Linked DNA regions of Homo sapiens: region 2 is linked to region 1. Evidence: promoter capture Hi-C in 16 types of primary human blood cells and fetal thymus (Javierre and others, 2016). All regions are on one chromosome and are shown on one strand. Each heading gives the region's core, a stretch centred on a gene start or on the middle of the fragment in contact. The rest is flanking DNA. Distances are from core to core; before and after follow the strand shown. Region 1 holds the start of CNIH4 (cornichon family member 4). Region 2 overlaps TP53BP2 (tumor protein p53 binding protein 2).

Region 1 (6,925 bases), core at 3,889-6,388:
ACATTTGGAATTTGTTCCTTCTGATGTTCAGATGTGTTCGGAGTTTCCTCCTTCCGGTGGGTTCGTGGTCTCACTGGCTCAGGAGTGAAGCTACAGACCTTCGCGCTGTCACAGCTCATAAAGGCAGCGTGGACCCAAAGAGTGACAAACAGCAGGATTTATTGCAAAGAGCAAAAGAACAAACCTTCCACACTGTGGAAGTGGACCCGAGTGGGTTGCCACTGCTCGCTGGGGCAGCCTGCTTTTATTCTCTTATCTGGCCCCACCCACATCCTGCTGATTGGTAGAGCCCAGTGGTCTGTTTTGACAGGGTGCTGATTGGTGCCTTTACAATCCCTGAGCTAGACACAAACGTTCTCCACATCCGCACCAGAGTAGCTAGATACAGAGGGTGGACTGGTGCATTCACAAACTCTGAGCTAGACACAGGGTGCTGATTGGTGTGTTTACAAACCTTGAGCTAGATACAGAGTGCCGATTGGTGTATTTACAATCCCTGAGCTAGACATAAAGGTTCTCCAAGTCCCGACCAGAGTAGCTACATACAGATTGTCGATTGGTGCATTCACAAACCCTGAGCTAGACACAGGGTGCTGATTGGTGTGTTTACAAACCTTGAGCTAGATACAGAGTGCCAATTGGTGTATTTACAATCCCTTAGCTAGACATAAAGGTTCTCCACGTCCCCACCAGACTCAGGAGCCCAGCTGGCTTCACCCAGTGGATTCACCACGGGGGCTGCAGGTGGAGCTGCCTGCCAGTCCCGTGCCGTGCGCCGGCATTCCTCAGCCCTTGGGTGGTGGATGGGACTGGGCGCCGTGGAGCAGGGAGCGGCGCTCGTCGGGGAGGCTCGGGCCGTACAGGAGCCCACGGAGGTCGGGGAGGCTCAGGCATGGCGGGCCGCAGGTCCCGAGCCCTGCCCGGCGGGAAGGCAACTAAGGCCCGGTGAGAAATTGAGCACAGCAGCTGCTGGCCCAGGTGCTAAGCCTCTCACTGCCCAGGGCCGGCGGGGCCCGCGGGGCCGGCTGGCAGCTCCCAGTGCAGGGCCCGACGAGCCTACGCCCACCCAGAACTCGCGCTGGCCCACAAGCACAGCACGCAGCCCCGGTTCCCGCCCGCGCCTCTGCCTCCACACCTCCCCGCAAGCTGAGGGAGCCGGCTCCGGCCTTGGCCAGCCCAGAAGGGGGCTCCCACAGTGCAGCGGCGGGCTGAAGGACTCCTCAAGTGGCGCCAAAGTGGGAGCCCAGGCAGAGGAGGCGCCGAGAGCGAGCGAGAGCGAGTGAGGGCTGTGACGATTGCCAGCACGCTGTCACCCCTCAGTGTGACTGGCTAAGCACATAAGGAAGATAGTTGATGAGTATTTTTTTTCACCTTAAGATAACTGAGTATGTAATGAATATTCTGATAGAGATATGTACAAGGTACAATGGGAGTTTGGTAATAGCTGGTTTAATTAATTAGATAATCTGTTAATTGTATGTCTAGCTTTAACCTGTGAACCCTTTATGAATCTATGAACCTGTACTGCATCAGGCAAATCCAGTTGGGTTTTTGTGTTTTTTGTTGTTGTTGTTTGCTTATTTTTTTGAGACATAGTTTCATTTTGTTGCCCAGGCTGGAGTGCAATGGAGCAATCTCAGCTCACTGCAACCTCCACCTCCTGGGTTCAAGTGATTCTCCTGCCTCAGCCTCCCAAGTAGCTGGGATTACAGGCATGCACCACCACCCCTGGCTAATTTTGTATTTTTAGTAGAGACGGGGTTTCTCCGTGTTGGTCAGGCTGGTCTCGAACTCCCGACCTCAGGTGATCCGCCCGCCTCGGCCTCCCAAAGTGCTAGGATTACAGGCGTGAATCACCGCGCCCGGCTCAGTTGGTTTTGCCTTCATAGTAATTCTCCTGTTCTACTCTCCATGTGATCTCCCTGCTGACAAACTTGTTTCCCTTTCACACATTCAGTGCGCTAAATAGCCAGAATGAGATTTTAAAAATGTAAATCAGATTAAGCTACTTTTTTGCTTAGAACTCTGCAGTGGTTTCTCATCATATTAGGATAAAAATCCTTGCCAAGGGTCTACAGGGCCCATATAACCTTACCCTGCCTCCTTCTCTTCCTCTCAGCACTCTCTCACCCTTTTCCCCTGTGCTTTAGCCACAAGACCACAGTAGTCTTTTTTTCTATTCCTTTAACACATCAAGCCTCTATATACAACTGGGCCTCTGAAATTATTGTTCCTACTTTCTGAAACATTCTGCCCGCAGACCTTCACATAGCTATTGTTCAAATTTCTACTTAAGTGTCATTTCCTCAGCTTGGCTTTCTCTGATCACTCCGTCTTTCCCCATCCCCTTCCAAGTACTTATGACTGCCTGTCATTAGTATATTTATTTTGTCGTCTGTCTTTCTCACTGTAATGTAAACCACAGGCTTGTGGGGACTTTTCCCAAGGTTTGGAACAGTAGCTCATATATTCTGGCTGCTCAGAAAATATTGGTTGAATGAATAAATAACTTTGACACAACCGCTCACAGAGCTTATCACTGCTTGAAGTTATCTTTTTCCCATACTTTGTTATACTTTATTGCCTGTTCCTCCCACTCACCCTACTAGAGCAGCAACTTGTTTGCCTTGTTTATTTTTATATCTCTGGAGTCTAGAGCAGTTCTTGGCCTATAGCAGGTGTGTTGTCAGTAAATACAGCAGTCTCATCCACAGTTTTGCTTTCACTGGTTTCATTTACCTGAGGTCAATCACAGTCCTAAAATGTTAAATGGAAAATTTCAGAAATATACAATCCATGAATTTTAAATTGTGTGCCACTCTTAGGAGTGTAATGAAATCTCCTGCTGCTCACTTCATCCTGCCTGGGACATGAATTATCTATCCCCTTGTCCAGCATATCCATGCTGTCTATGCCACCTACCTGTTAGTCACGTAGTAGCCATCTTATCAGTTATCAGATTGACTGCAGCAGTATTGCAGTGCTTATGTTCAAGTACCCATTATTGTACTTAACAATGGCCCAAAGTTCAAGAGCAGTGAATACTGGCAATTCAGATATGCCAAAGAGAAGCCATGAAGTGCTCCCTTTAAGTGAAATGGTCAAAGTTCTTGACTTAAGGAAAGAAAAAAAAACCCTATGAGACTGCTAAGATCTATGGTAAGAACCAGTCTTTTATCTGTGAATTTCTGAAAAAGGAAAAAGGAATTTGTGCTAGTTTTGCTGTTGCAACTCAGACTACAAAAGTTATGGCCACAGTGCCTGATAAGTGCTTAGTTAAGATGGAAAAGGCGGCACAGCACAGTGGCTCATGCCTGTAATCCCAGCACTTTGGGAGGTCAAGGTAGGTGGATCACTTGAGGCCAGGAGTTTGAGACCAGCCTGGCCAACATGGCGAAACCCCAACTCTACTAAAAATACAAAAAATTATCTGGGTGTGGTGGCATGCACCTGTAATCTCAGCTACTCCGGAGGCTGAGGCAGGAGAATCGCTTGAACTTGGGAGGTGGAGGTTGCAGAGAGCTGAAATGGCGCCACTGCACTCCAGCCTGGGTGACAGAGTGAACTTCATCTCAGAAAAACTAAAACAACAACCACAAAAAAGATGGAAGAGGCATTACATTTGTGGGTGGAAGACATGAACAGAAAACATGTGCCAATTGATGGCAACGTGTTGAGCCAGAAAGTATTGAGCCTATACAAAGACTTCAGTGAGGGATTCCCTAAAACGAGTGATACCAAGCCACTTACTGCAAGTAATGGATAGTTACATGAATGTAAGAATAGATTTGGACTGAAAAATATAAAAATCACTGGAGAGGCTGCATCTGTCTCTTCATCTTATCACATAGGCATTTTATCATCATACATCATCTCAAAAAGAAGGGTCAGTACAATAAGATATTTTGAGACAGAAAGACCACATTTACATAACTTTTATTACAGTATAATTGTTCTATCTTATTATTACTTGTTAATCTCCTACTGTGCCTGATCTATAAATTAAGCTTTATCATAGGTATGTATATATAGGAAAAAACATAGTACACATAAGGTTTGGTACTATCCATCGTGTCAGGCATCCACTTGGGGGTCTTGGAAAGTAGCCCCTGCAAATACAACTGTATTTGTTAAATGAATGAATGGATGAGTAAGACATCGTATTCACTTCTTAAAGATCTTAAAATCTAGAGAGGAGAGAAACATTGCTGTAGGAGAGGATAAACAAAGGACTGTGAAATCTCTGGAGAAATTGAAATCAGGAAGGGAAGGGCAAATCGCAAAAGTCAAGCCAGGAGCATTAAGTTAGATTTGTGCTTTGAGATGAAAACCCCTTACAAATCCTAAGTCAGGGAATGCAATGGTTCTAGAGCCAACTCTAAAGAAAATTTCACACATGGGAAATACATCCTACTGGATATCCGGATTAAAAGCGTTCAGTAGAGACTGGTGCAGTGGCTCAGGCCTGTAATTCCAGCACTGTGGGAGACTGAGGCAGGCAGATCGCTTGAGCCGAGGAATTCGAGACCAGCCTGGGCAACATGGCAAAAACCCCATCTCTATTAAAAATACAAAAAATTAGCCAGGCGTGGTGGTACATTCCTGTAATCCCAGGTACTCAGGAGGCGGAGGTGGGAGGATCACCTGAGGCCAGGAGGTAGAGGCTGCAGTGAGCTGTGACCATGCCACTGCACTCCAGCCTGGGCGACAGAGTGAGACCCTGTCTCAAAAAATAAAATAAAATGAGAAATAATAAAATAAAATTAGCTGGGCATGTCGGGAGGCTGAGGTGGAAGGATTGCTTGAGCCCAGGAATTCGAGGTCATAGTGAGCTCTATCACGCCACTGCACTCCAGCCTGGACGACAGAGCAAGACCCCAGCTCTTTAAAAGAAAAGCGTTGAGTAAATACTTGTTGATTAATTCCATTTCTGGAAATAATCGGATTTATGAAAGAGGCCCTGCCCACCTCTTTGATATGGACTTGTACTAATGAACTACAATTCCCAGCATGCGTCAGAATTAGGGCCGTAGAGTTTTTTAAAATATGGACTACAACTCCCGGCATGCCACACCAGGATTCGAGGACCACACGCCTCAGCCAGCCCCGGCAAGGGCCTATCAGGGGTGGGTCGGGGCATCCGAGCGGGTTTGACGGAAGGAGCGGCGGCGACGGAGGAGGAGGATGGAGGCGGTGGTGTTCGTCTTCTCTCTCCTCGATTGTTGCGCGCTCATCTTCCTCTCGGTCTACTTCGTATCCTTGCCTGAGGCAGGCGAACGCCTTGCCGGGGGACACGGCTGAGGGTGGGCCAGTTGGGCACCCGGGCAGGTGTGTGGGACTAGGGAGGCGCCCGGCGGCGGGCGTGGGCTCCCTGGGAGCTGGCCTGGCCGGGGCGGTGGCGCGGGCCCCGGAGCGGGTAGGAGAGGCTGGCTGCCCTACCCGACGGGCCCTGCTGCCCTGCACGCACTTGCCCTGCCTGGGTTGCCGGCCGCCCCTCACTCGGGTCCGAGTGGGCCTCTCCGGGCGCGCCCCGTCTCGGCCTGCCCGCCTGCTCTCCGCTCGTCCCCGCGGCGCCCGGACCAGCCCTGCCTGAGCCACGGCCGCCCTCGGGAGAGAAGCGTCGCTGTTTTTCTGGGAGAGGCCCTGCGCCGTGCTCTTCGTCGGATATTGGGGGTCCCAAGGGCGGTCGCTTGCGACAGTCGGGTGCCGGGATAAGTGCGGGCCATTTGCCTCCTCCTGTTCCCCACGCAACACCCCCGGCACCCGCCCCTTTGTTCTGGCGGGTGTTAGTACTTGCAGGGACCTTTCACATCCAGGAGTTGACTCATTCGCCAAAGGAGCGAAGTTGCTTCCTTCACTGTGCCGTTTTGTAGTGAGTGTTGGAAAGGAGTTGTTTTAACAACTGTCTACAAAGTGATTATTTTGGTTGTCCCCGGTGGTTGCAGATCTGTAAATTCAATAACTACATCTGCTGTAGTTCCCAATCGTTTCTCAGCTTTTAAATTTTTCTATCGATCCATGTTAAAACTTAAGTTGCAGTATTCAAACTGTTTTCCAGAGCAATAAATGGTGGTTGAATTTAGCACTGCAGTAGCCATGTCGGCTACAACTCTTCCCATCTCTTGACAAAGCATCTAGGCTTAGTTGTTGCCCAATGTTGTATTGCACCATCCAGGTTTAAGTAATTAAATATAAGAAAAAACGTATGAGGAACTCCGCATTTCAGCTTCCTTTCTTGGAAATCACATGTACCTGTTTCTGATCGGATTAAACCATTTGTTTGCTAGAGCATGCGGGCTTTAGGATAGTCGTACAGAGTATATGTTCAGTGCAGCTTCATTTTTCATTGTGGACTGGCATCCTGTTGTAGTGGAAAGGGACAAAATTTGGAATCAGATTTCCTGGTCAGCTAGCTCTTTGCTTGCACATTATTTCCCTAAGCCTCAGTTTTCTGATCTTTAAAATAGGAAATGTTTATTTCCTAGATATGCACAATGAGAATGGTGCTGAGCACCCTAGCACAGTGCCTGCCCCATAGCTAATGTTCAGTAAATATTGCTCTGCCTTCGTGTCCCCACCCTCCCCAATTGAGCAGCAGTTTTTACTTTGATGATATCTAACGACAAGATTTCTGAGTTTTAGTAGGTTTGGGGAGCTGATTGAAAGGGCAGCATCACTTGCCTAAGTTTTGATGACCTCTATGCCCCTCTTGTGATATAAGGAACTAGAGCAAGCTTGTCCAACCCACGGCCCACGGGCTGCATGTGGTCCAGGACAGCTTTGAATGTGGCCCAACACAAATTTGTAAACTTTCTTAAAACATTATGATTCTTTTTTGGTGATTTTTTTTTAAGTTCATCAGCTATCATTAGTATTAGTGTATTTTATGTGTGGCCCAAGGCAATTCTTCTTCCAGTGTGGCCCA
Region 2 (7,415 bases), core at 3,303-5,802, 520 kb before region 1:
GCGGGCGCCTGTAGTCCCAGCTACTCAGGAGGCTGGGGCAGGAGAATGGCATGAACCTGGGAGGCGGAGCTTGCAGTGAGCCGAGATCGCGCCACTGCACTCCAGCCTGGGAGAGAGAGTGAGACTCTTTCTCAAAAAGCAGGCAGGGTGGCTCCTGCCTGTAATCTCAGTATTTTGGGAGGCTGAGGCGGGAGGATCACTTCAGGCCAGGAGCTAGAGGCCAGCCTGGGCAACACAGTAAGACCCCATTTCCCCATTTATATTAAAAAAAAAAAAAAAAATAGCTCGGTGTGGTAGCATGTACCTGTAGTCCGTCCTAGCTACTGAAGAGGCCGAGGTGGGAGGATCACTTGACCCCAGGAATTCAAGGTTATAGTGAGCTATGATCATGCCACTACACTCCAGCTTGGGCGACAGAGCAAGACGCTGTCTCCCAAAAAAAAAAAAAAAAGTAAAAATATGTGTGTCTGTGTGTACACATGCACACACATATGTACCATCTAAAAAAAAAAAAAAATATATATATATATATATATATATATATATATATATACTGACCTGTATGAAATACACAGAAAATCAGCGACACCAGAGGCAAGTATAGCTATCACTTTTAAATTTTTAAAATCTCAACAGTAAAATATTTTTATAATAATGTATAATTTAAAAGTATAGTTAATACAAACTGGGATAAAAGAACATGAAAATATTTCATTAAAAATGGTAAATGTGATTACAACTTGTTTCTACCTCCTATAGTCATCTATCTCAAGAGAAGGAAAGTCGAAGGAAAGATAAAAAAAAAAAAAAAACACTGTGTTAAGTTGTGCCAGGCCACCTACAGGCACACTGCATAGTAATTCATGTCAGTCATATCTAGATGAAGATGTGCCCTTCCAAAAATTCAAAGTCACAGATAATTTTCATTTAAAAACAATGGGTCATAGATTTATTTTAAGAGTCCTGTGTTTATAGAGCATGTATGTACTGTAACTATGATGTTATGCTATCAACATAAGAATGACTCATTTTAAAGAGGAATTATTTCAGATCAAAATCTGAAAGACTTTTCTAAGAGGAAATACAAAAAAAAAACTGATTAGGGCATTTACAAGATGAGTCAGAGGCTAACATTTATTCATTTGATTCAGAAAATCATGTGAAGTTCTACAGAAAGAAGAAAGGAACCAAGAGTATAAGATGTTCCCTGTCACCAAAGGGAAATTACGCTCTACAACAGCACCTTCAGAGTTTTCATTTACAAAAACTCAAATCCTTCAAGTTTACCTAAGAGGAAGAAACAGAAAATTATGAAATGAACAATCTATAAAAAGAGTGACACAAATCCTCCCCAAATTTTGCAACTCACAAGAAATACCACAGGAATAGCCAGGCGATTATGCTTGTAGAGAGATTAGGGGAAAATCTGAATGGTTTCTGTGTTTCACAATTCCTCTGCAGAAAGATAAATGTAAAACTATTACTTCAGTTTCTATATTTTGTTGTACCCCTTATGGAGGCAGGCCCGAAAATATTTCTTGTAAGAGGAGAATGCCACTAGGCTTCCTATAACCCAGTCAAGCAAAAACACCTCTCCCAACACTGTGATACAGAGTGGGGATTAAATTAAGATATAACCAAAGTTTCTTTCAAACTCATACACAGCCATTTAGCCCAACTATGACTTCTAACACTGGGCGGGGTTTAGGAAGGAGATGCCGACCCTTCCAGTCCTCAAGAGTACTCTGCCTGTCTCTGCACAGACCTGGAGCTCTGCTCCAATGCTCACTCTGCCAGCTGAGTCTGCACACCAAGGGCACTCATGAGCTTGGCTCCCTAATTCAGACATGCTGCACCCTAGCTGTGAGCTAGGCTGCCAGTCTTCTGCAAGAAGTGTGCTGCTCCACTACCCCAGCTTGAGCTTGAGCTGTCCTTCCTCGTCTCCCCAATATCTGAGTAGGCAACCCACAGGGGTCTCTGTGGAACCTTCCTCAGGAGCCACAGGGACACTACATATTTGAGTCCTTTCCCTCAAAGAGACACTCTCTACCTCCCTGACGATGGGTCCCAACCTTATTAAAGTTATCAGAGAATCACTGCTTACAAAGGCCTATCATGATTTCTTAGCTGTTTCTCTAGAGTTTACTCTTGGAGCCATTAAACTGCTTTTAAAAATATTCACCAATTACCATAAGTTATGTATACCGATGTTCTATTAAGGCTCAATGATATTAAACCTACTTCTACACTAAGTGTACCACTTTATATGATGGCATATTTTTAACATTAACCCATCAGTTCCTATCAGTTACATCTGAGTTTATTTAAAGCAAAATCATAAAGTCATATTCAAAGGATTTTTTTTACTTCATAAACTATTCCTTTGCTCACTTACAGCAAGTTAGTAGAATTCAGAAATCAATAACGTGAAGTCTCAATATCAATTTGAACAATATTCTGTTAAAAATGTTAATCAGGCATGGACTATCCTGACCATCCATTCAATATCATCTGGAGCACACAATCATATTCTGAAATAGTCAACATTCTGGAAAAAAATGATAGAGCAAATATGAAGTAGTTACTTTAATTAAGGAAAAAATCATAAAGTAGCCTGCTGGTCATAGATGTCTGGTAAAAGAACCACTTCATATACATGAATAGGTAACAGGGACCTCTACATAGAAACCTATAGGAGTCATATCCTATCAAAGCCAGCCATGCCAAAGAAGCTCCTGGTTCTATGCCTTCCCCTCAATCCTAACTTCTTGCTGACTTCAACAAGAAGTTTCGTTCATTCACCCGTTAGTACTTACTAAATACCTATTAAGAAAGGACAGTTAAAGCAAAAGGAACACAGTGATGAAAAAGCTTGCCTTCTTTAGGGCAGAGAAGAGAGGCTGGTAGCACACAAATGAGCATGGTATATAAAGCGATATGATAAAGAATTATGGAAGTGATGAGGGGAGGATGGCTGATCATGATTAGGAAAGACACCTCAGGGTGAAGGGGACTTTTGAGCTGAGACTGAAGAAGCCACAGCCACTTGAAACATCTGAAGGAAGACATTTCATCAAAGGCCCAGAGGTGGTAATGAACTTGGACTATTCCATGACCAGAAAAAAACGCCACATCAGGAATACAGACTTATGCCAATGAGGGCAGGGAGAACAGGGGGTAGCTCAGGCAGGGCCTTGTAGGTCAAGAATAAGGAGTACGGACTTTATTGCAAGGGAAAAGTCACTAGAGTAGTGATTTACAACATGCAATTCTCAGACAAACAGCATAAGCATCACCTGGGAACTTGTCAGAAATATAAAGTTCCAGGCCCTGCTCCACATCTCCTGATTCAGAAACCCCAGAGGAGAGGCCCAGTACTCACACTTAAGTTTAAGAACCACTGCATTAGAGGGTTTTGAGCAGGGAAGTAACATGAAACTAGGTTTCTGAGTAATTTGCTGCAAATAATGTAGAGTATTAATTTCACTAGCAGATAACAACAGTGTGTATTAATCTATGTAGTATATATTAATTATAATACCAGTAGTTAACCCAACAACAATAGCAATACATTATGACACATATACACTGGTATTTATATTTGCATATTTTGAATTTCAGGGAATTCCATTTCAATTACAAGAAATATTAAGACCTAAAATTTATTTTAAATTATCTACTCCACAGTTATAGCCTCGAGTCACCAAATGAGGAATCTAAAATAGCCACTTTTCCTCACTTCTCTCCCCAGAGTAGCTCACCTGATTCCTACTCTGTCCTGTAGTGTCAATTCATCCCCATCCTTCCAGAATAACTCAAAGACCATAAAACTTCCTCCAATCCATCCATCCCTACCCACACACTCACCTCCAGCCAGAAGTAAATGTTCTCTTTGCTTCTCTGACAACCATTCACACTGTAGTTGTCTGTATCCCTGTCTTATCTGTCCTACTGGTCTATACATTCTTTAGTACACATGTTTTGGTTCTTAAATGCCTCCTCCCTGGTTTTCCTCCTCCTACATTATAACTCACTCCCCAAAAAACTCTGTCAGATCTCACACAAAGCAAATATGCAATACATGTTTGTTGGACTGAACTGAAACTGTGACGCAGGGATTCAAAGTTCCACGAAGAGGAGAAAGTTAACAGGCAACAAGAACATGACAAAGAGGATGTTCACATCCTGAAGCATCAAGAAATGTTTATCTATAAATGGTATTACTTCACAGTGAATGTTTTCAAAGCCAGACAATGTCTCAAAGAATTCTGCTTTAAGTAAAATTAAGAAACCTTTTCTCTTCTTTCAACTATGCCTGAAGCTGAATTTAGATAAGTTTCAAATTCTGAACGTATCCTCTAAAGCAACTCATCTTAGGTTACTCTGCTTCAATATCTGTCATAAACAATCAATGTATAAAGCAAAAGAACAAATACATTTAGTTAATTCCTCCCCGGCTCCAACTATTGATAAGTTTAGTGTTGGTGTGCTTCCTTCTAAACTGAGTCTTGTTTGCCAGGCATTCGTCTTATTTTATGTAAAGGTACTGTTACAGATTTCATTCTGTTTTTTACTTTTACTCACTAAGCACTACATTTTTAAGATCTATCCGTGATGATCTAACTACAACCGATCCATTGCTTCTAGTTATTTCCTTCCTACCTCCCACTTTGCTATGGAAGTAGAGGCAAGAACTACACTCACCAAAGAAAATCCAAAATAAGAATATTCATTCATCCATTAACTCAAACAATATTTATTAAATCCCTACAGTGTGCCAAACACTGTGCTAAGTGCTAGAAACACAAAGATGAAAAGGCATGCTCCATGTCCTCACAGAGCTTATGGAACAATGAAGAAGCACTGCAAACCACGAAAAGGGTGCAATGTTGAGAAATGAGAACTTCCTGGTGAAAGTACATTTAAAGCATTTGAAGTCCAGTGAGAACAGAAAAAAAAATCCCCTCCAAGCAGTGGAAGAAGGCTTAACATAAAAGAAGTACTATTAAGCTAAAACTGTAGGATGAATAAGACAAGCAGGAAGAGGACCATCTAGGGAGAGAAACACTGTGTATAAAGACACAGGAAACTGTGGCATGCCCTCACAACTATAGTCCTGGAACTGTTGAAGCACAGAGGTGGGACGCAAGGCAGGACAAAGAAGAGATGGGTCAATTCCCAACCCACAAGCCACGAATGTGCTGCAAAAACTTTCAATGCACAAAATTTGTTTTATACACATGCTGTTATGGCAAAGTCCGATGGAGCGGAGCACGTCATGGAGGGCAATATGCAAGAGTGGAGAGCAATATGCAACAGAGTACAACTTGCTGTGAGCAAGAGGAAACACAATTCCGAAGGAAGGCCGAATGAACCACGAGGTGACCGGATGCTCTTCTGCACAGCACAAGGCATTCCCACTACTGTGCCATAGCTGGTGCTATGTTTTAATAACTGACTTGGTGTTTTGAGTTTTTCAATCATTTCCATTATGCAGCTAAAAATTCTGAAATGGAAATGTATCAATGACACAAAAAGGCTGAAATCCACTGGGCTACACAATAAAGAAACTTTCTATCTCACTAAAGAGTTTATATATTTTATGCTGTAAGGAACAGAGGTCAGACTTGAAGAATTCTGGAGAGGGAAGAGACACATTGCTGTTTCAGAAAGACCACCAGGGAAGCAGTGTGTTAAATGGCCTGATGGGGCAGAGAACAGAAAAGGTAAGAAAATAGATAAGGAGAGCATTACAACAGTCCAGGCAGGAGAGGGGTGAGGCCAAACAGGTGCCCCAGGAAATGGAGAAGAGGGATCTGTGTGCCCTGGTGACTCAACAGCTCCAGGAGAAGACAGAAGAGAGGAAAAGCAGCAGGATGAAAGCCCAGGTCCGTGGCTACTAAAAGCAACAAGCAAAACCTACCAGAGAAAGATCCTATCTACCTTTAAAATAAATGCATTATCCAAAATAGATACCCCCCAAACTTTTCAGGAAATTAACAAAATTTTTGAAAATTACCTACATATCACAAACTAAGCAGTTATTATCTAGATTTTGTTGTGATGCAGAAAACACTGCCACAAAGAGACCGTTCTAGAATTAAAGTTAACTCAGACTTGATTTTCCTAGGTCACTCGCTACTTTGTGTCAGGAAAATGAAGATACTATTGTTTTAAAATTAAAAAAAAAAGGGGGGGGGCGGGGGGTCAAGGAACTTTTAGGTTGAAGCATCAGAAGCTTCCAGAGCACTCTGGTCATGTGGTCAAAAGTAAAGCTGTCCTAAAGCATTTTAAGACAGACTATGGCTTCCTTGAGAAACCTGATACACCCTACTCAGTTGAAAAGAAACATGGTGACAGAAGGCTTTTTCTCAAGCCTAAATTTAAACTGCTCTGTGTAGCTGTCAGAGCTCTGTGGTGATATAAAAAGTATGGTTTCTCTTTAGCCCCATAGGAAGGAGCTTGTGGATACAGGAGTGATCTTCCACCATTCCTGTCTGGTCTTACTTCCAACCCCGGGTAAGTGCTACTGTTTCTCCTCTCACCCCTGGGGCTTCTGAGGGTCACTAAAACAATTTATTAGAGCAAGTGACAAACTCTTGAGTGCCTTCACAACCAATTCTGTCAGCTGGGCCTTAGGTGTGGTAAAAAATAAAAAATAAATAAAATTAAAACCCTTTAATTTATTTTTGGCAGCTTTCTGTAGACTTTCCTACTCTTCCCACCTTGCCCAAGTCTTACACTCTGGCACCTCTAAGGTCCACTGTCCACACAGCAACAGAGTGAGCTTTCCTAATCAATCAGGTTGTCACTTTTGCTAACTAAACCTCTTCTGTGGCTCCCACGTCCCTTCCCATGCCACCTCCACCCTTCCCTCTGGCCCGCGAAAACCTATATGCTGACAGGTCTTTTGCTTCGGCTCTTGTCACTCTGCCCTCTGCCCACGAAGCCCTGCCCCGCCCCCGCCGCCCCTCTCCCCTTGCCCCAGCCTCCAGTGCTTCCTCCCGGCCTCTGCACCAGTCCCTAGGAATCGTGCCCACTTGAAATGCTCCACCTGCAAATCTTCACAGGACCAGCTCCTTCTTGTCATTCAGGTCTCAGCTGAAATGTCACTTCCTGACCATCCAATCTAAAGTAGCCATCGCAGTCACATTACCCTTCTTAAATCCCATTTAACTCTCATGTTTTTCTTTTTTGTTTATTTTCTCTCTCTCCCACCCAAATCTCCCATTAAGCACTATGAAAGAAAGCTAAGCTCCCTGAAAACTTCCTTTCCTGTCTCCATGGCATTTACAACAGTGCCTGGAATACAGAAGATGTTAACTAAATATTTGTTGAGCAGATGTTATCCCCAAAAGGCCATCCAAAAACAATTAAATGGTTAATGAGGGAGAATGAAAAGCAATGATTTAATG

Evidence for each region. Contacts are between HindIII fragments. The CHiCAGO score rates a contact against its expected background, and 5 or more counts as called.
Region 2: a fragment that was not itself captured here is called in contact with the fragment with the promoter of CNIH4 in region 1 in 4 of 17 cell types (naive B cells, total B cells, monocytes and 1 more); the score reaches 7.2 in naive B cells.

The regions. Positions count from the first base shown.
Region 1 is chr1:224,351,741-224,358,665 of GRCh38, forward strand. CNIH4 (cornichon family member 4) reads left to right here and starts at 5,139. Exons shown (of 5, transcript NM_014184.4): 1 at 5,139-5,253. The coding sequence starts at 5,185. RefSeq lists enhancers at 4,792-4,931, 5,489-5,989 and a silencer at 5,212-5,581. The HindIII fragment of the contact is 2,727 bases long and covers 4,006-6,732 here.
Region 2 is chr1:223,830,965-223,838,379 of GRCh38, forward strand. The region is part of intron 1 of TP53BP2 (tumor protein p53 binding protein 2); the gene reads right to left. Among named protein-coding and RNA genes, the nearest start is that of TP53BP2, 11 kb to the right of the region's middle. The HindIII fragment of the contact is 3,367 bases long and covers 2,870-6,236 here.